Linked DNA regions of Homo sapiens: all the other regions are linked to region 3. The links are contacts of gene promoters, found by promoter capture Hi-C in blood cells and fetal thymus (Javierre and others, 2016). All regions are on one chromosome and are shown on one strand. The core of a region is centred on a gene start or on the middle of the fragment in contact, and the rest is flanking DNA. Distances in the headings are between cores, read along the strand shown. Region 1 overlaps PIKFYVE (phosphoinositide kinase, FYVE-type zinc finger containing). Region 2 has its middle 3.2 kb from the start of C2orf80. Region 3 holds the start of KANSL1L-AS1 (KANSL1L antisense RNA 1). Region 4 overlaps PIKFYVE (phosphoinositide kinase, FYVE-type zinc finger containing). Region 5 overlaps PIKFYVE (phosphoinositide kinase, FYVE-type zinc finger containing). Region 6 holds the start of PIKFYVE (phosphoinositide kinase, FYVE-type zinc finger containing). Region 7 has its middle 39 kb from the start of PTH2R.

Evidence for each region. The method cuts DNA at HindIII sites, captures the fragments that hold promoters and counts their contacts. A CHiCAGO score of 5 or more calls a contact.
Region 1: a contact is called between a fragment that was not itself captured here and the fragment with the promoter of KANSL1L-AS1 in region 3, in 2 of 17 cell types (M2 macrophages and M1 macrophages). The highest score is 7.8, in M2 macrophages.
Region 2: a fragment that was not itself captured here is called in contact with the fragment with the promoter of KANSL1L-AS1 in region 3 in 1 of 17 cell types (neutrophils); the score reaches 5.2 in neutrophils.
Region 4: a fragment that was not itself captured here is called in contact with the fragment with the promoter of KANSL1L-AS1 in region 3 in 4 of 17 cell types (M2 macrophages, fetal thymus, M1 macrophages and 1 more); the score reaches 9.2 in M2 macrophages.
Region 5: a fragment that was not itself captured here is called in contact with the fragment with the promoter of KANSL1L-AS1 in region 3 in 3 of 17 cell types (M1 macrophages, M0 macrophages and M2 macrophages); the score reaches 10.2 in M1 macrophages.
Region 6: the fragment with the promoter of PIKFYVE here is called in contact with the fragment with the promoter of KANSL1L-AS1 in region 3 in 9 of 17 cell types (M1 macrophages, M2 macrophages, total CD4 T cells and 6 more); the score reaches 9.6 in M1 macrophages.
Region 7: a fragment that was not itself captured here is called in contact with the fragment with the promoter of KANSL1L-AS1 in region 3 in 4 of 17 cell types (M2 macrophages, M0 macrophages, M1 macrophages and 1 more); the score reaches 18.4 in M2 macrophages.

The regions. Positions count from the first base shown.
Region 1 is chr2:208,342,273-208,345,891 of GRCh38, forward strand. PIKFYVE (phosphoinositide kinase, FYVE-type zinc finger containing) reads left to right here. Exons shown (of 42, transcript NM_015040.4): 32 at 282-377; 33 at 2,839-2,922. Among named protein-coding and RNA genes, the nearest start is that of PTH2R, 63 kb to the right of the region's middle. The HindIII fragment of the contact is 633 bases long and covers 1,551-2,183 here.
Region 2 is chr2:208,191,646-208,194,836 of GRCh38, forward strand. No RefSeq gene overlaps it. Among named protein-coding and RNA genes, the nearest start is that of C2orf80, 3.2 kb to the left of the region's middle. The HindIII fragment of the contact is 3,764 bases long and covers 1-3,151 here.
Region 3 is chr2:210,028,672-210,032,058 of GRCh38, forward strand. KANSL1L-AS1 (KANSL1L antisense RNA 1) reads left to right here and starts at 1,251. Exons shown (of 5, transcript NR_110291.1): 1 at 1,251-1,327; 2 at 2,796-2,836. KANSL1L (KAT8 regulatory NSL complex subunit 1 like) reads right to left here. Exons shown (of 15, transcript NM_152519.4): 9 at 2,750-2,875; 10 at 1,132-1,247; 11 at 174-298. The HindIII fragment of the contact is 1,781 bases long and covers 537-2,317 here.
Region 4 is chr2:208,298,204-208,301,436 of GRCh38, forward strand. It overlaps PIKFYVE (phosphoinositide kinase, FYVE-type zinc finger containing), which reads left to right. Exons shown (of 42, transcript NM_015040.4): 8 at 438-576; 9 at 2,734-2,891. Among named protein-coding and RNA genes, the nearest start is that of PIKFYVE, 34 kb to the left of the region's middle. The HindIII fragment of the contact is 163 bases long and covers 1,477-1,639 here.
Region 5 is chr2:208,326,496-208,329,656 of GRCh38, forward strand. It overlaps PIKFYVE (phosphoinositide kinase, FYVE-type zinc finger containing), which reads left to right. Exons shown (of 42, transcript NM_015040.4): 21 at 1,685-1,785. Among named protein-coding and RNA genes, the nearest start is that of PIKFYVE, 62 kb to the left of the region's middle. The HindIII fragment of the contact is 2,141 bases long and covers 283-2,423 here.
Region 6 is chr2:208,264,994-208,268,370 of GRCh38, forward strand. PIKFYVE (phosphoinositide kinase, FYVE-type zinc finger containing) reads left to right here and starts at 1,262. Exons shown (of 42, transcript NM_015040.4): 1 at 1,262-1,422. RefSeq lists an enhancer at 1,099-1,148 and a silencer at 1,279-1,548. The HindIII fragment of the contact is 8,601 bases long and covers 1-3,377 here.
Region 7 is chr2:208,366,146-208,369,750 of GRCh38, forward strand. It overlaps a transcript of PTH2R not described here. Among named protein-coding and RNA genes, the nearest start is that of PTH2R, 39 kb to the right of the region's middle. The HindIII fragment of the contact is 6,349 bases long and covers 1-3,605 here.

The DNA of each region.
Region 1 (3,619 bases), core at 617-3,116, 1.7 Mb before region 3:
ATTTTAGACTTCTGCTGTTCATTTTAAATTCTTTTTGAGATTAGTGTGGCCAGAGTCTTGGCAGTATGGAAAGGTTTGTTTGGAGTGACTATTGCAGAACTCTCTGATTTGAAACCTAATTAATTCTGATAATTTTCTAATTGCCTTCAAAAACTTTCTCTTGAAATCTTTTTCTTTCCTAATGATTCAGGTTATCATATCTGCATACATTTTGGCTTTCTTAATTATATTCTTAACTCTAGAGTACTTAGTTAACTTATGTATTTTAAAAATTTGCATAGTGATCCAGATAAACACTACTTAATGTATGAACATGAACGAGTGCCCATTGCAGTCTGCGAGAAGGAACCCAGCTCCATCATTGCTTTTGCTCTCAGGTATTATTCATGGGACTTTGACTTATGATGATATCTATGTATTTTATGTATGTCTATTAATCCCTTATTTTTGGAATCTTTCACATAAAGCAAAATGATTAAATATAAGCAAAAATATATGTTCTTTAGTCGTGATAGCTTGTTCTTTTTTTTTTTTTTTTTTGAGACAGAATGTCACTCTGTTGCCCAGGCTGGAGTGCAGTGGTGCAATCTCGGCTCACTGCAACCTCTGCCTCCTGGGTTCAAGCAGTTCTCCTGCCTCAGCCTCCCGAGTAGCTGGGACTACAGACACACACCACCATGCCCAGCTAATTTTTGTATTTTTAGTAGAGATGGGGTTTCACCATAATGGTTGGGCTGGTCTTGAACTCCTGACCTCAGGTGATCCACCCACCTCGGCCTCCCAAAGTGCTGGAATTACAGGCGTGAGCCACCATGCCTGGCAGCTTGTTCTTTTTGTGCATAAAAATCTTCTCTGAACCCAAATAATGAAGTATAGGATGATTCCTAAGTAAGCTCCTAATAACTAAATTGACTTGGCAAGTTATTTACTGAGCCTTGAATCCTCTATCCATTCTGTTAAAATATGTTTTCCCTTGTATCCCTTCTCTCAGTTTACTTGTTGACATAGTACTTGGAGCATCCTGCCTTGTACAATCTGAATATCTTTTTTGTACCATTCACTCATTTTCTACTACCCTACATACGAGGTAAAATTTTTCTACTTAGAAAACAGCAGTCACCTCTTACCCATTGAGGATATGTTCTAAGAACCCCTGTGGATGTCCGAACCTACAGATAGTACTGAACCCTATAAATGCTATGTTTTTTCCTGTACATACATACCTATGATAAAGTTAAATTTATAAATTAGCCTAGCCACAGTAAGAGATGAACAACAACAATAAGATAGGACAGTTTTATAATAATATACTACAACAAAAGTTATGTGAATGTGCTGTCTCTCTTTCTAAATATGTTAATGTTTTTGGACTGCAGTTGACTGTGGGTAATTGAAACCATGGAAAGTGAAACTATGGATGAGGAGGGACTACTGCAATGCTGTTCTTATGCCTTATTCCGTAGACATTTCTGACTTTTTAGTTTATACAGTTATCATATATCTTAAAGCTATATCCACTGTAAAAATATATAGTATGTCTAAAAGGGCAAAGCTTTTAAACTTTTTTTTTTTTTTTTGAGACAGAGTCTTTCTCAGTTGCCCAGGCTGGAGTGCAGTGGTGTGATCTCGGCTCACTGCAAGCTCCGCCTCCGGGTTTCACGCCGTTCTCCTGCCTCAGCCTCCCAAGTAGCCCGCCACCATGCCCGGCTAATTTTTTTTGTATTTTAAGTAGAGACAGGATTTCACCATGTTGGCCGGGATGGTCTCCATCTCCTGACCTCGTGATCCACCCGCCTCGGCCTCCCAAAGTGCCGGGCTTACAGGCGTGAGCCACCGCACCCAGCCTTAAATCTTAAGAACATCTTGGTGGTAGCTGAACTTAGTTTAAATAGAATCTAAGATGTTTAAAGCAATTTTTTCCCACTGGAAGGCATTACAGTTTTTAATTTTTCTTGTTAGATGGTGGTTCCAGGGAGTCCATTTATTCAACAAATATTTGAATGTTTACAAAATGTGATATACTAGATATTGGATGTACAGGAGTAAATAAGATAGATTTACATGCCTCTGCCTTTATGCAGTTTAGAGTTTACTGTGTAGATAATGAGGAATTTTTTTCCTTTATAAGATTCCATATGATAACATTTTTAGCCTTTGCCTTTGGCCTTTGTGAACATAATATAAGCTTCTCACTTTATTTAATAGTCATAATATATTAATAGGTAAGAAAGGTAAGAGAGTCAACCAAATCAAAAGTATTTTTTGTACTATTAGGAAGTAAGGATTCTAGCTGAGATCATCTTTTTTCAATGTCTTAGAAAAACAATACATCCTAACATGCCTCTCTTGTTGCATGACATTTATCTAAAGCAGGGTTCCTAAACTGCTAACCTAAGAGTCAGGTTTTTTTTTTTTCTTTTTGGTTAATAGAACATTAAACATTTTTTTCCCCTTAAAGTTTAGTATGTTAAGTAGAAAAGCACTCTCAAGTTCTTTTTTTCTCTATTGTACTCAACACTGAGGCTTCAAACTTTTACCTGTTCAATCCCTGAAGTCATTTGATCTAAATATTAGTAAGTAGGCTTTTAAAATCTTTGTTGAGGGTATTGATACTGGTTGATGAGTCAGTGGGTCATATTTTGTATTACCTTCTATGAAGACATTGACCTTCCTCATGAAGCTTCTACTTGATTGCTTTTGTCAGTTAACCAAAATTATTTAATTATGGAAACGTATAATGATTGTGCTTCTATAATGCAAAACTTACTCTAAAGCTTATGATTTACTTTTAAAGAAGAAGTTAATGTTTAACGTTTTTCAACCTATTTCTGCCCTAAGTTGTAAAGAATACCGAAATGCCTTAGAGGAATTGTCTAAAGCGACTCAGTGGAACAGTGCCGAAGAAGGGCTTCCAACAAATAGGTGATTCATGATTGAGTAGAAACTATTTTAATTTAGTTATGTTATCATTTTCTATATGCTTGTACTTCAGTTTTATTACAGCATTTATCATCATAAAAATTTCTAGGATTCAGATAGTGGCACTCATATTTCAGCCAATAATTGAGACAACAAAGCTCAAATATAGCAAAAGAACTTAAACAGTCCCTCAGGATGCAGTTTTATGATAATTGCAATAGCAGTTAAATGTATATTGCAGATTTAAGGACATTTTTGAAAAAAATGAAAAGGTGTTTTTATTTAAAAAATAATAACTTGTAAAATTGGTAAGCTCCTGCTTGACTTGGCAATTCAAAGTATCTGTGAATTGTTTATAATAAATAAAGGTCCTAATACTTCAAAAACCAAACCCAAACCAGTTATTTTGGCAAGTTCAGTATTTTAGACTTTTAGACAGAAATTGTCACATGCTCATTATTGTGATTCTTACTGAAATAGAGTTTCCATCTCTACTAACATTATAGTTTTATCTGAATTGTCATTGTGATAACTAGTGTGAGAGAAAGGAATTGATATTTTCTGTAGTTGTTTGATTTATGGGTGCTGATATAGTGTTAATGGACTTGGGAAACATAATGTATTCCTCCATACATTTTTATAGTTACAGCATTTCACTTTAAGTCCAGTAGATATTTCAGACTTTTTTTTCTGTGTTCTA
Region 2 (3,191 bases), core at 20-2,519, 1.8 Mb before region 3:
GAGATGGAGTTTTGCTCTTGTTGCCCAGGCTGGAGTGCAATGGTGTGATCTTGGCTCACCACAACCTCCGCCTCCCGGATTCAAGCGATTCTCCTGCCTCAGCCTCTGGAGTAGCTGGGATTACAGGCATGCGCCACCACGCCCGGCTAACTTTGTATTTTTAGTAGAGACAGGGTTTCTCCATGTTGATGAGGCTGGTCTTGAACTCCCGACCTCAGGTGATCTGCCCGCCTCGGCCTCCCAAAGTGCTGGGATTACAGGCGTGAGCCACCGCACCCAGACAATTTTTTATTTTTTAATTAATTTTTTTTTTTGTAGCAATGAGGTCTCACTATGTTGCCCTGGCTGGTCTCAAACTCCTGGGCTCAAATGATCCATCTGCCTTGGCCTCCCAAAGTGCTGGGATGACAGGCATAAGCCACCACGCCCAGCCATTTTCAATTTATTCTAATATTTTGTTTATAATTAAAACTAAACTGTAGGCTGGGTGTGGTAGCTCATGCCTGTCATCCCAGCACTTTAGGAAGCTGAGGTGGGTAGATTGCCTGAGCCTAAGAGTTCAAGATCAGACTGAGCAACATGGCAAAATCCTGTCTCTACAAAAAATGATAAAAACTAGCTGGGCATTGTGGTGTGTCCCTACAGTCCAAGCTACTCAGCAGGCTGAGGTGGGGGGATTGCTTGAACCCAGGAGGCTGAGGCTGTAGTAAGCTGTGATTACACCCCTCCACTCCAGCCTGGGTGAAAGAGTGAGGCCCTGTCTCAAAAACAAACAAACAAACAAACAAACAAACAAACAAACCAAAAAAACAGAAAATAAACTGAGTTATTTTTCTTTTTGACTCCCTATTGTTGATACCTCATTATAAGGTGTTCCACAATTTCTTGATCAAGAGAGCTTTTCACCCAAAGGCAACCTTGGAGAACTTCAACCTTGACCTTGCTAGGCTTGTTCATCCCTGTTAACTCCCTTACCCCTGCCCCCAGCTGAGGCTGCTGCAGCTGGTCCAACTCAGCCAAGTGTTCATCGATCCCAATAGTCACCTTCCCAGCTTCAGTCCTTGAAGGCAAATAGAAGGTCCACGTGTGCAGTGGTCTATCAGGGGCTGGTCATTGCTAAGACTCACATTGATGGAGGTAGTGATGGCAGTGTGCCTATCCCGATGCCATGCCAGTGAGTCAGGAGTTGGGCAGGACTGGTTTTACAAGGTACAGATCACAAAGACCCGGCTGATAAAATGATATGTAGTAAAGAAGCCAGTCAAAACCCGCCAAAACCAGATGGCGATGAAAATGACCTCTAGTTGTCCTCACTGCTCATTATATGCTCATTATAATATATTAATATGCTAAAAGATACTCCCACCAGCACCGTGAAAGTTTACAAATGTCATGGCAACGCCTGGAAGTTACCCTATATGGTCTGAAAGCAGGAGGAATTCCCTCAGTTCCAGGAATTGCCCACCCCTTTCCCAAAAAACTAATGAATAATCCATCCCTTGTTTAGCATATGATTTTTAAAAAACATAAAAATAAACATAAAAAACCCACAAAAACATAAAACATAAAAAAACATAAAAATAGCCAACCAGCAGCTCTGCCTATGGAGTAGCCACCCTTTTATTCCTTTACTTTCACTTTACTCTGTTGGCTTGCTCTTGAATTCCTTAATGTGCGAAGGCAAATATCACAGGGCCTTTGGTGTTCAGCCTGTGACATCCTTTCTGACAACAAATGAAGGGACAATGGAGACCTCCCCCTGAAACCCAGACTAAAACCAATTGGCACCATTCAGACCTGATGGGTGGGTGAGTCTCCCTTTGTCCAATTTCAACTTGCTACTTTTTTTTCCCCTTTGATTTTGGCTCCTCTGTCCTTTCCTATGTTCGTTATTTTAGACAGGTGGGGAAGTGGCTGTGAGACCTCTGGCTTGGTAGCCTGATTGCAGTCTTCTGTTGTGTGGGTGCCCCAGACATGCAGCATGCCTGGCAAGTCATGTCCTTTGTAACCCACCTTGTCATCCCTTCTCTTGAACCCAAAAGTCAAAGAGATCAGATAATGCAATGCAAAACAGAGCAAAGCCTTAGATTTTGAGAGGAATCTATCTACTTAGAATTCCTGGGGTTCCGGCCCAGCGCCGTGCCTCACGCCTGTAATCCCAGCACTTTGGCGGGCGGATCACGAGGTCAGGAGATCGTGACCATCCTGGCGAACACGGTGAAACCCCGTCTCTACTAAAAATACAAAAAATTAGCCAGGCATGGTGGCGGGTGCCTGTAGTCCCAGCTACTCAGGAGGCTGGGGCAGGAGAATGGCGTGAACCCGGGAGGCGGAGCTTGCAGTGAGCCGAGATTCCGCCAAAATTGTGCCACTGCACTCCAGCCTGGGCGACAGAGCAAGACTCTGTCTCAAGAAAAAAAAAAAAAAAATTCCTGGGGTTCCATGAGGAAAACAGAATTTTTTCCCAAAACGGAGTCTGTGGCATGCTTTCAAATATAAACAGACTGCTTTAAGGAGTCAAAGTTGACTTATAGAGCCAATAAAAGCCCCTTGGGAAAACTGGCCTCACACCTTGTCTATGCAGTCCCTGTACAGGGTTCTTGACTTGTGGTAAGTAAAAATGTCACTTTCTGACAGGCCCAGGAGCCCCAAGTTACCTTGGGACCTCGAGAGGAGAGGAATTCACCCAACTCATAAAGGCGTTTGTTGGCACAGATAAATCTGTGGCTGGGCTCAAGACCTTAAAAAACCTAATCTGAGATTATTTATGTAACAAAGTTCCATCAAAGCCTATTTACAAAGAGCCTATATGGCAGATAATTATTCTTGCTGCCCTTTATGCAAAAATCAGGCAAAATATAATAAGACTAAAACTTATTTTGCAAACAAATTGGTCCTACCACGATTTATCTTTTATAAAAATGAGAGACTTCAGAGAGAAAAAATTATACTACAAAAAACTATAGTACACGTGTTGTTAGATTCTAGTCTTGACCATTGTTTTTTGGGTTTTTATTATTGTTCAAAATTTGGACTGACTCCTAAATTCTTTCTGGGTTACAAGTCCCCAAACTGTTTTCAAATTTTTCTTCCATTTTTCTGAGTAAATTCAAAATCACTACTACCTTCCTCCTGAGGCCCTGCAAGCTAAAGCTTATTCCTTGTGATATAGATGAGAAAAATGTGTGAGG
Region 3 (3,387 bases), core at 1-2,500:
GATACTATATAACACTTAAGGCACGAGTAATTTTTTTTTCACCGTTTCCCCTCCATGGCTATGAAGGAACTGGGAGAAGGATGCTCCTTTCATTAATTAAAATTCTTCACTTTGAAAATTTAAGTTTATTAGGGAAGGAAGGAAGAAAAATATGAAGATGTAAGTATACATACCTTGGAGTAAGTATTTCCTTATATTGGAGTTTCTCTAATTTAGCTGGGGCTACTAATGACATGGGAATCACAATGTTATCTATGTCATAAGAGCTCTCACTTCTCAATCTCCGTCGTGCAGTATTCTGCAAAACAGGATTACAGTAGATTTACAGTACTGTCTAGTTACTTGTAATGATACCCTCCTTTCATCAGTTATGTAAATATGGCAGTACACGTTACATAATTTTTGTAAATACATTGTTATAAAGTCTGACTAAAAAATGTTAAGAAAACCAAAAAATAAAACATTTTTCTATCTTTTGTAAATCAGAACAATCTCTTGGTAGATGTGTAATGTGTATTTATGTGTGCAAGCATACAAGCTTATTTTTAAGACCACAAAAAATAGGTCTTAAATGCAAAACTCTTTATCAGAAAAGACCAACATACATCACCCTAAATGTCAATGAAAATGATCAGTAACCACTTTTTATTAGGAAAGGCAGTGAAACATTTTTGGTCAGCCCTTCAGTATACTCTTCATTTATGCATTCCTGGTTCCTGAGTTTCGGAATTCATTTCTAAACCCTCCCACCTTTTGACCTCTCTATTCCCTGGCCAGATAACAAAAAAACAAACAAACAAACAAAAAACAGGACAAGAACAAGAAAGTCCTGAATTCTCATTAGTAAGACTTTATTTAGCTTAATATGTTAAGGAATAGAGATGATCATGATAATGTTTAAATTTTTAACACATAAAAAGAAGCTATAACCAAATATTAATGAACTTTTAGCTTCATAGTTAAAAATAAGTTGTATGAATCAAATATATTGTTTTCTAACAAGATAGTTATAAATGTCTGTTAATATGTGCTAGTAAGGCTGTTATAGATTAGCAAAATATAAATTATTTTCAAAATCAGGTGTTTTTATTTTTAAAGCTATTTTAGAGTTCAACATATGGAAAAACCTACTCGTGATGAATTCTGGATTCTTGATAAAACGTTGACATTGGAAACAGCAGTAAAATTGCTATGGGATCCTGATTCTGTGTGTTGAAAATCAGATTCTTCAAGTTTAGTTCTTTCTCCTGCCATGGAAAGAACCATTGAATGTTACACATTAAACAAGTCTAATATCATTAGAATTACTTTCCTAATTAGATGACAGGTGATTGATTCCTTGTTTTGTGTGTGTGTGTTTAAATTCGTGTATTAGAAAACAAAAAAGGAAATGAAAAAAGAGGAGCCTTACTTGCAGTCATGCCACAAGTTATTTCCATTTTCTGGGGCTTTGGCAGTTTTTATCGAATATATTTCTTATTGTTCCCTGAATAATCCCTCATCTCATCCCTTTATTCTTGTTTCCTGTGACTCCTATTCATAGTTGAACCACCAGAACTATCTTAATTTTCTTATCTAATCTCATTTTTCATATCTGACTTTTTATCCTAATTTATGTGAGGTATCTGTCCTTGGTCTTCTGAACACTCTTAATTTTTTGAAAAAATTCTGCTATTATAAGTACATGTTTCCGAAAGTACTTGTTCTCTGGTACTCTTTTTTTAAAACAGCATCCTGTTCTTGTTTCATAGATGAAATTTCTCATATCTCTCAGGATATTGATTAGAAGTTTACTTCTGTTAGTATTTTCTGTATATCTTCCAAGTTCTTTTTTTTTTTTTTTCCTGTTTTGGTTCCCAGTTACTGTGTGTGTGTGTGTGTGTAGTAAATATATATATGTATGCGTTTACTTACTGCCCTTATTTTAGTACAAGTGTTTTAAAATGAGAATATTTCCTGCATAATATAAAATCTAATACCCAGTCCATATTTAAATATCTCCATTTGTTAAAAAAAAGTCCTTTATAGCTAGTTTCTTCAGATAAGGATCTATATATAAAAATTGGCCATTGTCTCCTAGGTTTCTTATAGTCTAGAATAAATCATTTTTCATTACATTGACTTTTGACAGGCTGGACCAGATGTCCTACCCTTTTGGAATTGTCTAGTTATTTATTTGTAGTATGACATTTCTTTATTTTATTCCTGTATGTACATCAAACTTGAAGTTAGATCTAAAGTGTCAGTCAATTTAAGTGAAACATTTTATATCTTAGGTAATGTATACTTCATGTTGCATCTTATTAGATGTTTTTAAAGCTTTATATATATATATAAGTTGAATCTTGTTGACTTTCTCAAAATCCTGAGGAATCTGCAGTGCATCAACATCTCCACAGTAGGTACCATAAATGGTTAACAGTTTCTGTAAGGCAACTTTGCACTAGCCTATTTTGAGCATAGAACACAACTTTGAAGATTAAATCCCATCCAGGGACTGATTGGTAGAAGACAACTAGTCAGGGAACATAGGAGGGAAATACTTAATTGCCATAAAGTGGGTAGATACCAGTCCACAAATAATTCTAAATTAACTACGAATATGCTGTTTCATGTTTGTAGACTCATAGATGTTTTGTGTTATTAGTGGCTGTTCTGGATTATAAACTCCCATGAGAGGTTATTTTAAAATCAGAATTTTTAATTTTTAATATTTATCACTACTGCTTATATCCTCACTTTAACCTACCTAATGCTGTTTCACTCAAATGTCTTTTCTTTCTTCCCTGTAACAGTTGTGCAGAAGATTCTGACCTTATTTGAGGCTTACATATAGGTGAATATCCATTTCTCCATTGATTCAGAGTACTATGTACTAAAACAAATGAAAAGGAAATATTAAGTTTTAGTTCCTTAACACAGACAGTGAACATGTCAATCTGTTTTTATTTGTAACTGCAGAATTTTAAGATACCAGTTCAAAATTACAGATAAACATAAATACCAAGACACACAACTCCAACTAAAAACATCCCCAGGAATTTCCAGTTTCTTATATTTTCTCCATTTTTTTGAGGGGGATGAAAAGGGAAGATGATCTGTTCTCAAAGTCTTCCAAATTACAGAAACTTGATAGAGTGAGGATTGGCTCAGATATATAAATCTTGGCGATCAGAATCTTTAAGTTCTTGCTTACCTTTAAATCTGGAAATAAGTTGGGACCAAGTAAGATTCAACATGGTCAGACTAGACTGTGCGAGCAAGAACCAGAATCATTTAATATCTCTGATGCCTTAGTTGCATCATCTGTAAAATAGGGATAATAGCAGCGACCTTGGATAATGATTACATGAGTTTATTCCTGTAGTAGTAAGTAAAAGTGTCTGA
Region 4 (3,233 bases), core at 308-2,807, 1.7 Mb before region 3:
TGCAAGATTATTTCTGCATTTAATTTCATTCTTTATATTTGTTATTAAAAAAAAAATCCACTAACTTACAGCATTTTAACAAGAAGACTTTGTATCTATTCCCTTTGAAATATTACTGATATATGAACTATGTAATTGTTTTCCTGTAATCTTTCCATAACTACTTTCTTTTAAACTTATTTCCAAGTAATTTTAGACACACATAGAATTGCAAAATATAGACTTACATAGGGTTGCAAATATCGTACAGAGAGTTTCTGGGTATCCTTTACCAAATTTCTCCCAATGATAATATCATGCATAACCATCATAAGTACTTTTAAAAGTACCCTTAACATTGGTAAATAAGCATTTATTTAAAAATGAATTTTCTCTGTAATTCTGTTTATTGAAGAAGAATTTACACCTGTGATTTCACTTCTTGTTTTTATTTCCAGATCAGCCAGCATTACTAACCTGTCACTGGATAGATCTGGTTCTCCTATGGTACCTTCATATGAGACATCTGTCAGTCCCCAGGCTAACCGAACATATGTTAGGACAGAGACCACTGAGGATGAACGCAAAATTCTTCTGGTACTGGTCCAGTATCTTTGACCCATTGCTAGTTTTGAGCATAGAGAATGTTCATGTGACTGAGTCTTTTTTTTTCTTTTTGAGACACGGTCTTGGTGTGCTGCCCAGGCTGGGGTGCAGTGGTGTGATCTTGGCTCCCTGCAACCTCTGCCTCTCAGATTCAAGCGATTCTGGTGCCTTAGTCTCCTGAGTAGCTGGGATTACAGGCGCATGCCACTACACCTAATTTTTTGTATTTTTAGTAGAGACATGGTTTCGCCCTGTTGGCTAGGCTGGTCTCAAACTCCTGACCTCAAGTGATCTGCCCGCCTTGGCTCCCAGAGTGCTGGGATTACAGGTGTGAGCCACTGCACCCAGCCTGTCACTGAGTCTTTTTAATAAGAAATATATAAGTGAAATAGCATATCAGTTAAACAGAAGTGCTTAGCTTCAGTTTTACTAGGATCACCTGAGAGATGGGTCAAGTATTCTATACTCATTGCATTAATATTTTCTTTTCTTTCTTTCTTTATTATTATTATTTTTTTTGGAGATGGAGTCTCGCTCTGTCACCAGGCTGGAGTGCAGTGGCGCAATCTCGGCTCACTGCAACCTCCGCCTCCCAGGTTCCAGCGATTCTCCTGCCTCAGCCTCCTGAGTAGCTGGGACTACAGGCATGTGCCACCACACTGAGCTAATTTTTGTATTTTTAGTAGAGACGGGGTTTCACAGTGTTGGTCAGGATGGTCTCAATCTCCTGACCTCGTGATCTCCCTGCCTTGGCCTCACAAAGTGCTGGGATTACAGGCGTGAGCCACCGCGCCTGGCCAGTATTTTCTTTACCCTTTTATCTGGTAAAATCAGAATTCAGTTACCTATGTAATAAGAGAGCTTAACTCTTAGATCCCATATTGCTATTTAAGCTTTGAAGCATGTTTGTTATACACATGTAACACTTTTCAGACATTTAATACTATATGTTTATATGAAATAATCAGTTGCTTATTGAATTTATCTGTGCATAAAATACTGTGTTCAATTCTAAGAGTGACTCAGAGAAATGGAAGGTATGGCTGTGTCCTCAAGCTTATAATTCAAAAGTAGAAATAAGAGCCAGGTGTGGTGGCATGCACGTGTAGTCCCAGCTACTTGGGAGGCTAGGGTGAGAGGACTCTTGAGGCCAGGGGTTTGAGGCTGTAGGGTGCTGTGATCATGGCTGTGAATAGCCACTGCACTCCAGCCTGGGCAACATAGCAAGACCTTGTCTCTAAGACAACAAACAAACCAGCAAACCCACAAAAGGTAGAAATAAGATCAGTGGGAAGATCCTTAATAGTGGAAGTAGTAATACTTTAATAATAAAAAAGTGTCAAATAAATAAATGACTATATGTCATGTAAGAATTCAAAAAAACAGAAAGCTCATTACTAATGAGGGAATCAGAAAAAGGCTTAAACTGAAGGACTTGAACTGGACCTTGAGAGATGGAATCATTTTGGATAGGCAGTGAGGAAGGTGAATCTTATTTAAAGGTGTGAAGAAAGATACAGAGGTAAGAATAAGCATGACATTTTCCATGGCCAGAAGTAGGATTTTTTAATTGGGAGAGAGTTTAAGTAGGAGTCTGGGGGCAATGAGAAAGGAAAGTTATTTGGGACTACCTGGTGGAAGGCAATGAATTCTGTACTTACAGGTGTAGATTTGAAACTTTAGTTGCTGAGGAACATTCAGAATTTTTTTGAGCAGGGAGTAATTTACTGAAGCTCTTCTTTTTAAAAAACTCATCTGTCAGTTGGGTACACAGTGAGAATCTGGTGGAGTGAAAGCCTCTAGGAACAGTTACCTTAGGTTAGTGTGATTAACTGTTGTCTCCCTCTGCCTTGCCCCATCTCCAAAGAAGAATACATAAATAGGAGATTGATAATATGTGCCATTGACTGAAAAAAGAAGTATTTGGAATAGTTGGTTTTCAAGAGAAAAAGTTATGTTTGGAATTAGATGAGCAGAGTTCAAGCTGTTCCCACGTATATGACATTTGTATTAAATTGTGTGAGTTAGCTACCATAAAGAAATCCAAGTTAGGTTTCCTTTTATGAGTCTAAAAATCACAGGAAAACATCTGAAAAGGTATATAGCATTTTTCTCAAGGGTAACTACTTGCTGTTAATGTGATTGCAGGACAGTGTGCAGTTAAAAGACCTGTGGAAAAAAATCTGCCATCACAGCAGTGGAATGGAGTTTCAGGATCACCGCTACTGGTTGAGAACGCATCCCAACTGCATTGTAGGAAAGGAATTAGTCAACTGGCTAATCCGAAATGGGCATATTGCCACAAGGTATTCTGATCTTAGAAGGTTTCAATATTATTTGTTTATTTTGAATGAGAAAACATATTTGAAGATAGTAAGAGTTACAGATTTCTTTGTAGAGTTAGGGTGCTCTTTGTTTTATGTAATTGATGGTTTAGGGTGCTAATTACTTAACCCTCCTCCAATCTGAGTTTTAACCAGCAGAGAACAGATGCAAGGAGTACAAGGAGCCAAATAGGATCTTAATTTACCTTATTAAAAGCAGAAGAACTCTCTAGCAAAGGAGGATTAGAGAAGGTAGCTGGAACCTAAGGCCAAAGAATTCCCCAGCTACTGTTCACTAATCTAGACAGGTTGTAACCTGTGTTG
Region 5 (3,161 bases), core at 103-2,602, 1.7 Mb before region 3:
GCTAAAAAAATCAGTTTGGCAGACTGCATGCAGATTTGTGAAATATTTCTTCTCCTATGCTATTTTTGTTTTTGTCTTGAGTCTGCTGGCTTATGTGTTACTTTAATATGTATGAAGCAGAATTGTAATGAAACTGGGTTTCAGGGTTTTAAGGTGAGCTTATAATAAGCTAGGAAGATCCCTGAAGTAAGGGGAAATGTGGAGCTGCTTAAAATTTCTGACAACATGACTTGGATGTGGTATGATAATCCTGGATCCTTGTGTCAGGGAGTGAGAGATGGAAGCTTATTGTAGGAAATAGATGTGTTTTTTTAAAAAAGTTAGCAGCAAATATATTTGTTTTCTCAAAAAAAGTTAGCTCTTTTTTTAACATAAAACATTTTACCTTGTTATTTAACTATGACAGTGATCTTTTTCTTTTTAGGCATAAATTGAGAGCAAATTAAGGAAGGTTTATAGATCCATTATTGATAATGGTAGCAATAAAACTAATTAACAAATCCATTGCTAGATGAGGAAATGCAATTGTTTAATAAAACGAGAAGATGTCCAATTTCGCCAGTAGTCAAGGAAGTGCTAAATAATGTATGTTCAATTTCACTAGTAGTCAAGGAAGTGCTAAATAATAGTGGTGCTAAATAATTTTTTATTTGTCAGATTGACAAAAAGGAAAGTCGTAAAAGACCCATGGTTAATGATGGCATGGAAAAACACCTTTCATAAATTTTATGTAAGTTTATACAAATGTAGGTATATGTACATTTGTATAAATTTATAGAAAGTGATAGGAAAGTCTCCATTAATTTACACATACATGTATATACCTTTGACCCAGGACTCCAACTTTTTATAATCTATCCTGCAGAAATAATTAAGTATGCTTATATAAGGGTGCTTGCATTTTTTAAGAATATATGTACAAAGATGTTTATTGAAACAGTTTAAGGATGAGCAGGATCTCAAGTCATTTAATGACTTGGATAAAGCCCATGATATATTTGAAGTGTTAAAAAGCAAATTATGTTTTAATATGTGTTGCATTATTCCATATTTATAAAAACAAAACCCCCTGTTTGTACTTAGGAAGTGATGTGTGTATGTGGGACAGGTATGTAAACTAGCAAAAAGAATAGATATTTTAAAACCACAGAGTCAAACTCCGCAGCTTAGGAGGTGGAGTAGAATCAGGAGGAGCAGTTTTGTGTATTTTATGAACTTCTTCATATGCTTCTATACTGTTTCAATTTTAACAGAGAGCTGGTTTTACCTTTGTAATGATCAAAAACAGCCATAAGCATAGATAAATAAACACTTTAGAATTTAGATTTCTGGGTGTCTCAGATTGATGTTATATCCCATCAGTTCAGACTGTTAAATATGGGTATATTTAATTAATTTTTTTCCAAAATAATTTAGTGCAGTTGTGTAAAATAAAGAGTAAGTTAAGAAAACAAGCTATCTAGACATTGTTTTGTATTTTTAAGTTTAATTGAAACTTTTTGGGTTGTCTTTTCTCAAAAACCAACTGCCCTTCCTTATATTTAGTTTTCTGTAGTTTTAAATCTTGACCAGAGCCCCCACAGTGATAATTGGAGGCTTTACAAATAGAGTGGAGTGTGTTTGGTGCATTGGGGTTGAATGCGGTTGCAGTCACTTGCTCATCCATTCATTCCTTCTATTTCAGGTGGACTGTCTGAATCCCATTAATCACCAGAGACTTTGTGTGCTCTTCAGCAGCTCTTCTGCCCAGTCCAGCAATGCTCCTAGTGCCTGTGTCAGTCCTTGGTAGGATTCTTTTCCCCCTACACTATTCCACATAAGAACAGAATTCCAGCAATTAAAAAAAAACAAAAACAAAAAAACAGTCATTAGGACCTGTATTTAGGTACACAGCACACTGCTGGTCATATATGAATTGATAGAACTTTTAAACTTGTGAAGTAAATATGAAAATACATGTTTGTTCATGAGTAGAAGTAAATGAGAGTATATTAAGAGTGAAAAAAGTGTGAGGGATAGAAGAGGAATTTGTATTGGTTGACTTTCCCTTATCTGAAATGCTTGGGACCAGAAGTGTTTTGGATTTAATATTTTTTCAAATTTGGAAATACTTGCATATACTTAATGAGTTATCTTGGGGATGGGACCCAAGTCTAAACATGAAATTCATTTGTGTTTCATATACACCTTGTACACGTAGCCTGAAGTTAATTTTATATAAGATTTGTAATAATTTTATGTATAAAACAAAGTTTGTATACATTGAACCACCAGAAAGCAAAGGTTTCAGTTGTGGAATTTCCCTCTTGTGGTACCATATCAGGACTCAAAAGTTTCAGATTTTGGAGCATTTTGGATTTTGGATTTTCAGATTAGGGATGCCCAACCTGTACTTAAAAATGTGAGAAAGTTGACACACAAAAAGCTTGTTTATAAGCATTTTGATGATAGCATGTACAATTTAGGCAGGTTTTCCTTCAGGCATAATTTTTATAAAAGCAGTCAACCTTTTGCTTTATTAATGGGTTTTAGTCTAAAACTTAAGTAGATTGATAGAAACTGAAATACATTTTATGTTTTAAATTATTTTTTTCAAATTATTGTCACAAAAACCTCACACAGACATACATAGCCTTACATTACATGTTCACCTTTAGTTTTAAAAGTACTATGGAACATAACTTCTTGTTTGGGGGCACTGTCTCCATGCCAGAACATATTCTGTGTTTTAATTTTGGATAACTGAAACACTTATTTCCAGCAGTGAGCTCATGGGTTCTTCTAGTAGTATAGCTTCAGCAGGAAGACTTGGGAGTGGCAGAACCCATGGGAATTATCTCTGGGAGTTTATATATAGGTCAAGGCTTGAATAAGATGTGGATTTCAACAGTTATATAGCCAAACTGTCTTGTGAGCATTTATAGGTTAGATAAAAAGTTAGAAACTGGCACTTTAGCAAGAACTGCTGTTTTCCATGCTCAGTAAAGGCATGGACAAGAGAGTAGGAGACCAGAGTCCCACCTTGTGCTGACAGGGCTTAAGCCTTTGTAAAGGAAACCTTTACCTCTTCTTAACTCAGATCAGTTTTACTAAATTAATATTATAGTTTATGCATCCTCATTAGTTTCATAAGACACTAGTGGATTGGGAGTGAAAAAGAT
Region 6 (3,377 bases), core at 12-2,511, 1.8 Mb before region 3:
GGAGGTTGCAGATACGGTGCAAGCTCCCAGACAGGAGAGGGTGAATTGGGGGCCAAAAGGATTGAGCTGGGGAAGAAGAGGCCCCTTCCTCAGAGAGATGAGGGAGAAAGGCAGACCAGGGCAGATGTGGATGTAGGTAAATGTTGTGGTGTGTGGGGAATTAGCTTGTTAAGGGTCACGCCCAGATACCTTGGGATTTTTCACGTGGGTATAAAATATGATTCTCTGATGAGAATGATGGTCAAGGTAATGTGGGGGTCGTGGTGGTGGTCTGACGCAGCAGTAATAAGGAATGGGAGAAGCTGACTACAGACTCCCAGAAAGATTGCTGAAGGGCCCAGCTGAGGATGGTGACTGGGATTTGCACTGGACTCAACCTGCAGGTTTCGATGGTGCTTTCCAACTCCAGGAAAACTGGGCTGGGATTTGACAAAACTCTTGAGGAAAAGGACTCACAGAATTTAAAACTGCATTTCCCTTTAGGTTTCGTCTGCTTTCCATCCTCCCCTACCAAGCCCCACAACTGCGGCGAGCATGTTTTCTGCAGTTAACTGCACTGCGCTCTCAGCAGGACAGAAATGACGAATAACTCTAGCCAAGCTGAACAAGATAGGGCTTGGGCTTGGTAACTTTATTTGCATCAGCATTTGCAACACAACACCTAAATGAAAAAATTAACTATAAAGCCGACATCACTTACTCTGGGTCAGGGAACTGTGCCATTCGCTTTAAGTGCATTTACTTAATCTCAAAAAAGTATTAAGAAGTGAGTCCTTTTATTAATCCGACTTTACACACCAGAGGTCTAAGGCCTAAATAAATGAGCAATTTGCTTAAGATCATATGGCTGGTTATTGGTGGAGTCATGCAAGTCTGGAAACAGAGTCATCGCTAACTCCGGTTCAGTGCTACACGAGTGAACTGTCTACAACAAAGCAATAACATATTATGAGTGCCCACAGTATCGAACACATACGGTAACCGCAGTCCAGCCAGCACCCCTGCAGTGCCCAGAGCACCAAGCACCCATCCGTTGACCCCGCATGCGTGACGCTCACGCGCGCAGTCCCCCTGGCTTCTTCCAGGAAGGCTGAAGCGGCCTAATCTCGGCCAAAAGATCAGGACGACTCGATCTGGGCTGGACTCCTTCTGCCTGAGCATCTGATCCGAGCGTCGGCCGGGCTGGGAGGAGCCGGCCCCCGGGAAAGATTTCGGACTGGGGGACAGGAAAACAGAGGGCGGAGTCTTGGGGGGGGGAAGCGAGAAGCCGCATCAACCATGTAAGCAGCTTCGCTTCCTGCCGCAACCGTCCGCGGCCTGAGGAGCCCACCGCCGCTCTCGGGGGCCGACTTCCGGGGGCTGAGCCGTTGAAGCGGAGGCTGGGGCGGGGGGCAGCCGGCGCGGCCGGGGCAGGAGGCGCAGGTAAGGGAGGGGGCCTGGAGCTTGGCCGGCTGGGGCTCAGCATGGGAAGGAGGCCGGTATGGGGAGCTCCAGGGCCAGAGCTGAGGTGAAAGTGAGAACCAGGGCTCCGCAGTCGGGGGCTAGGGCCTGGCTGCCGGCTGAGCAAGGAAGGGCAGAGAATCTGGCTTTAGAATTAGCTTGTCCTCCCTATTCCCCGGCTGCCTTGTCTGGCGAGTGGGGACGGAAGCCGGGTGGGGCCCTTGAGATTTCCTTGGAAACATTTGAAGTTCCTTTGCCTCTCTCTCGACCCTTACGCCTGAACTTAATTAGGAGGGGAAGAGTACAGTTACTTTTCCCTCTGAGTGCATGAGTTCTGAGTTTGTCAGAGGCGCATCCGTAGGCTGGAAAAGAAAGTTCATGAGCTGCAGAAACGATACCAACCGTGGGGGTTCAAATAAGTGTTTGTCTTTTTAAATGCTTGCCTCTGCTATTTGAGACGATTCCATTTCAACTTAGGTTTTGGAGTTTCTTGAGGAGGAGCATTATTTCCCAATTAGTGTTTACCCTTTGCTTAGAATGTTCCCAACAAAAGGATGAGAATGGAATGTGTTGGAAACTTTTAGGACTTAGGGGTTTTCTGCCCAATCAGAGGTTATTCCTAAGACAGTCAAGAAATATAAGAAGTGCTAGAATTCTGTATAAAGCAAGTTATTCGTGTGTATCTGATGTGTATACATGATTCATTATCTACTATTGACGCAGTGCATCCTGTGTTGTAAAATATGTCCAGTGTTGACAATAGAGGTAGTCGCTTGGTATAATGTACTTATTTCTGATTTATTTGAGCCCCTTTTTTGGCACTCCAAAACTCCCACTCTGTCAGTTTTCTTACAAAAAATGTTCTTTCTTTTGTGTTTGTGACAAAGATTGTGTAGGTTAAATCTCTTCTGTGGAGCAAGGCTAATTTCCTGTGTTCTCCCTTTTTCTGCTTTCTGGATCCTGCTCTGGTTTTCCTTTAAGCGTGTTGGTCAAAAATTGAACAAGAAATCTTTGTTGATAGAAGCTAACATTTCCAATATTCAGCTTTCCTAAATTATTACATTGCCAGTTTTTTTTTTTTTTTTTTTTGAGAGACAGAGTCTCGCTCTGTCCCCCAGGTTGGAGTGCAGTGGCGCGATCTCCTCCGACTGCAACCTCCGCCTCCCAGGGTTCAGGCGATTCTCCTGCCTCAGCCTCCTGAGTAGCTAGATTGCAGGCGCGCGACACCACACTCGGCTAATTTTTGTATTTTTAGGGGAGACGGGGTTTCACCATGTTAGCGAAGCTGGTTTTGAATTCCTGACCTCAGGCGATTCACCCGCCTCGGCCTCCCAAGGTGCTGGGATTACAGGCGTGAGCCACCGGGCGGGGGTCTCCCTCCCTCGCCCAGGCTGGAGTGAAGTGGTGTGATCTCGGCTTACTGCAGTCTCCGCCTCCCAGGCTCAAGGGATTCTCCTGCCTCGGCCTCCCAAAGTGCTGGGATCACAGGTGTGAGCAGCCACGTCCGGCCTTTACTGACTGGCTTCTGATAGTTTGTAGTAGGTCTGCATATATTAGTAGCCTTAATTAGAAATGGTGAAGTATTGGTGATATATCAGAAGGCTTTGGGTAGGTAGGTTAATAGGACTGATTACCACTCAGGAAAGAGTCCTAATTTATATTTTAAAGCGTTGTTAAGCTGCTAAAGAGTGAGAGTTATAAGATAATTTTTTCAGGGCCCTAGTGTCATTATGTAATTATTAGGGTTAACTATATGATTGGGTTTATATTTCAGAGACTACACTTGCTAAGTGTTTTCATGGGAATTTTTATCTTCTTATTTCCAAAGCCGAGTATAATTTTTGTGTAGATAACCTTTAGAAGTAATTCTAAGACTCTTTAGGCAGAATGTCATCTCTGCCTCTGACATTACTTGTGTCAAAGTAGAATGTAGGCTG
Region 7 (3,605 bases), core at 1,039-3,538, 1.7 Mb before region 3:
AATTCTTCAGTGAAGTCTTCTAGTCCTGGGCTTTTCTTTGTTGGGAGGTTTTTAATTACCAACTCAATTTCCTTACTAGTTATTGGTCTATTTATATCTTCTATTTCTTCATGATTCAGTCTTGGCAGGTTTGGTGTTTCTAGAAATTTATCCATTTCTTATAGGTCATCCAGTTTGTTGGTATAGTTCATAGTCTTCTCTTATAATCCTTTCTTATCTGTAGCTCAGTACCTCCTATCTGGAGATGCAGAATTAGGAATTGAAACTATAATAGGCCCCCCTTTTATAATGGGGTGTCCTTATTTTTACCTTCTCACCTTGCAATACCCTTGTCTTGCTAGTAAAGAAAGAAGGGAAATTTGATTCAGGAGGTAATCATACTTTTCAATTTGTACAAGATCTAATAGCCATGAACTCCTATGTCATTCCTCACCATCCCATAATTCTTAGCCCAGCCATCATCCTTACCTCAATCCCTGCTGGTGCAGCCTGGTTTATTCTGTTAATGTGCTGTACTGCATTGAGGTAAGGACTTCTGCTCAGCTTTCTTCTTGATACCATTGTACCTTGATTCACACTTCCTCTTGTGAAATAAAGTTTAGCATGAAGCTGCTTTCTTACATATTTTAAGTTCGGCTTAAAGGTTTTTCTGTACATCGTGAACTGTAACAAGTGGAATATAACCAGACCGTAGCTTACACTTGTGCCATTTACCAAGTTTTGGCCAATCAAATGTAGCCAACTGTTTGAACTGTATTCAAATAAGGGAAATGCTCAGCTGTAACCAAGCCAACTGTTTCTGTACCTCACTTCTGTTTTCTGTATGTCACTTTCCTTTTTCTGTCCATAAATCATCTTCCATGGCGTAGGTGTGCTGGAGTCTCAGAGTCTATTCTGGCTCAGGAGGCTGCCTGATTTTGAATCATTCATGGCTCAATTAAACTTCTTTAATTTTTTTTTTTTTTGAGATTGAGTTTCACCCTTGTTGCCCAAGTTGGAGTGCAATGGTGCAGTCTCTGCTCACTGCAGCCTCTGCCTCCTGGGTTCAAGCGATTCTCCTGCCTCAGCCTCCTGAGTAGCTGAGATTACAGGCACATGCCACCATGCCCAGCTAATTTTTCTATTTTTAGTAGAGACAGGGTTTCGCCATGTTGGCCAGGCTGGTCTCGAACTCCTGACCTCAGCCTCCCAAAGTGCTGAGATTACAGATGTGAGCCACTGCACCTGGCTTCACTCCTTCAAATTTAATTCAGCTAAAGTTTTTATTTTTTTCTCTTTCTTTTTTTTTTTTTTTTTTGAGACAGAGTCACTGTCACCCAGGCTGAAGTGCAGTGGCACAATCTCGGCTCACTGCAACCTCCGCCTCCCAGACTCAAGCGATTTCTGGCTAATTTTTGTGTTTTTAGTAGAGATGGGTTTTCACCATATTGGCCAGGCTGATCTTGAACTCCTGACCTCAGGTGATCTGCCTGCCTTGGCCTCCCAAAGTGCTAGGATTACAGGCATGAGCCACTGTGCCCAGCCTCAAATTTAAGAAGAAACAGTTAACATGGACTTGCATACCTCCAGGATATTGTGAATACCTCTCAATATTTTTCTAAGTTCTCAAAGTCAAATTAGACTCTATGACAATCACTCAAGGTTCCCTTTGTTTCCAATATGTTGATGACCTGCTACTTTGCAACCAAAGCAAACAGGGTGCTCTTCTGGACTCCCTTACTCACCTTAAGGCACTGACTGACTAAGGTTATAAATCTTCCAGGTCCAAATGCCAACAGGTACAAAAAATTCTTACCTACTTAGGCCATAAAATATTTTAGGGTACTCAAAAACTCGTCCCAAAATGCCTTGAATCAATTTTATTCATTATCTCTCAAAGACAAACAATTACGTGAATTTTTAGGAGCAACTGGATATTGCCAATGGATTCCCAATTTTGCTGCCCATGTCTAACCTTTATATGCTGTCCTCTTAGATACAACCACAGAGCACTTTACCTGGTACTCTGAGGCACCAGCCTCCTTGGAAGCATTGTCCACACCCCAGCCCTTCGACTACCCAACTTTGACAATCTTTTTTACCTATATTACTGTGAAAATGATGGGATTGTTGTGGGTATCTTAGGACAATCTTTTTGTCCCATAACATATTTCTCATGTCAACCTAGATATGTCCCACAGTACCTTTCTCATGTTAAGTAGCATCAGGCATTCCTCCATGCTTATATGCAATAGACTTAGCTGCCATCCTAATTGACAAAGCAAGTATTCTTATACTGCCCCACCATTCACCTCTCTGTTCTCCATGCTGTTCCTCTACATTGGTATCCCTTTCAAAGTGGATCTTGCCTCAACTAACCCTTAACTGTTTTTTTTTTGTTTTTGTTTTTTGTTTTTTGACAATTCTGGCACTACCCCAACACCTGCTTGTTCCAATCTTTCAAAGCCTGGCCACCTTAAATAGTTAATCTGGTTACTGGTTAGGTTAACATCTACATAATGCAGAAGAGTTTTTGTTCCTACCAATGTAAATATACCTGGTGAACCCATTCTGGACAATGGATATATAAAAGCATATGGTATCCATAAGCAGGAAGACAAAGTCACTCTGTCTCCTCCTCTGGTAGATTAATTTGGCACTGGGAAGCCTCCATGGAAGCTCAAGGTCAGTGCTTTACCCAAGTAAGACTATTGGAAGGAAATCTCTCTACATTGAAAATAAATACAGTACTGGACCTTTTCTGGGTAACATTTCAAAAATGTATTGCAATCAAATTCTGTGATTTGGCTTCACAGATGGCACTAAACAACCCTCCACTGTCATTGTTACTTGGATTATAACTAAGTATTTCAATGTGAGTGAATGTCAGATTACAGGATAATATTCCTGGTTTGTAGGAAAAAGTAGTGGGATATGGAATAGCTCAAGTGTTCCCCTAGTTGGCTTGACCAGCACCCATGACTATAGTTGGATGGATGGACCTTAACTTGGTCAATAAATAAAATACATTTCTATAGTAACCAAGGCTAAATTAAAGGGTTTCTCTGCCAGGTGTTTCACAACCTGTTTTACCCTCATAGCCTAACAGAAGCACATTGGAAGTGAAGATGTGCAGATGCCAACATGATTGATGATAAGGGTTGTGAAAGACACAGAATTCCAACTTGGTTGTTCACAGGTTCCACCACTATGACCTTGTCTGTAAACAACACTGGTCTCTCTCTCTTTTTTTTTTTTTTTAGAAGGAATCTCACTCTGTTACCCAGGCTGGAGGGCAGTGGCACAATCTCAGCTCACTGCACCCTCCACCTTCCGGTTCAAGCGATTCTCCTGCCTCAGTCTCCCGAGTAGCTGGGAGTACAGGTGCCCACCACCATGCCCGGCTTATTTTTGTAGTTTTAGTAGAGACAGGATTTCTCCATGTTGGCCAGGCTGGTCTTCACCTCAAGTGATCCGCCAGCCTCGGCCTCCCAAAGTGCTGGGATTACAAGCGTGAGCCACTGTGCCTGGCCTGGTCTCATTTTTATGTAGCAATAAGATATATAAAAGGTTCCCACCTAAGTGGTCAGAGAAATGTGAAGTTGGATATCTGGTGCCTTCCCTTA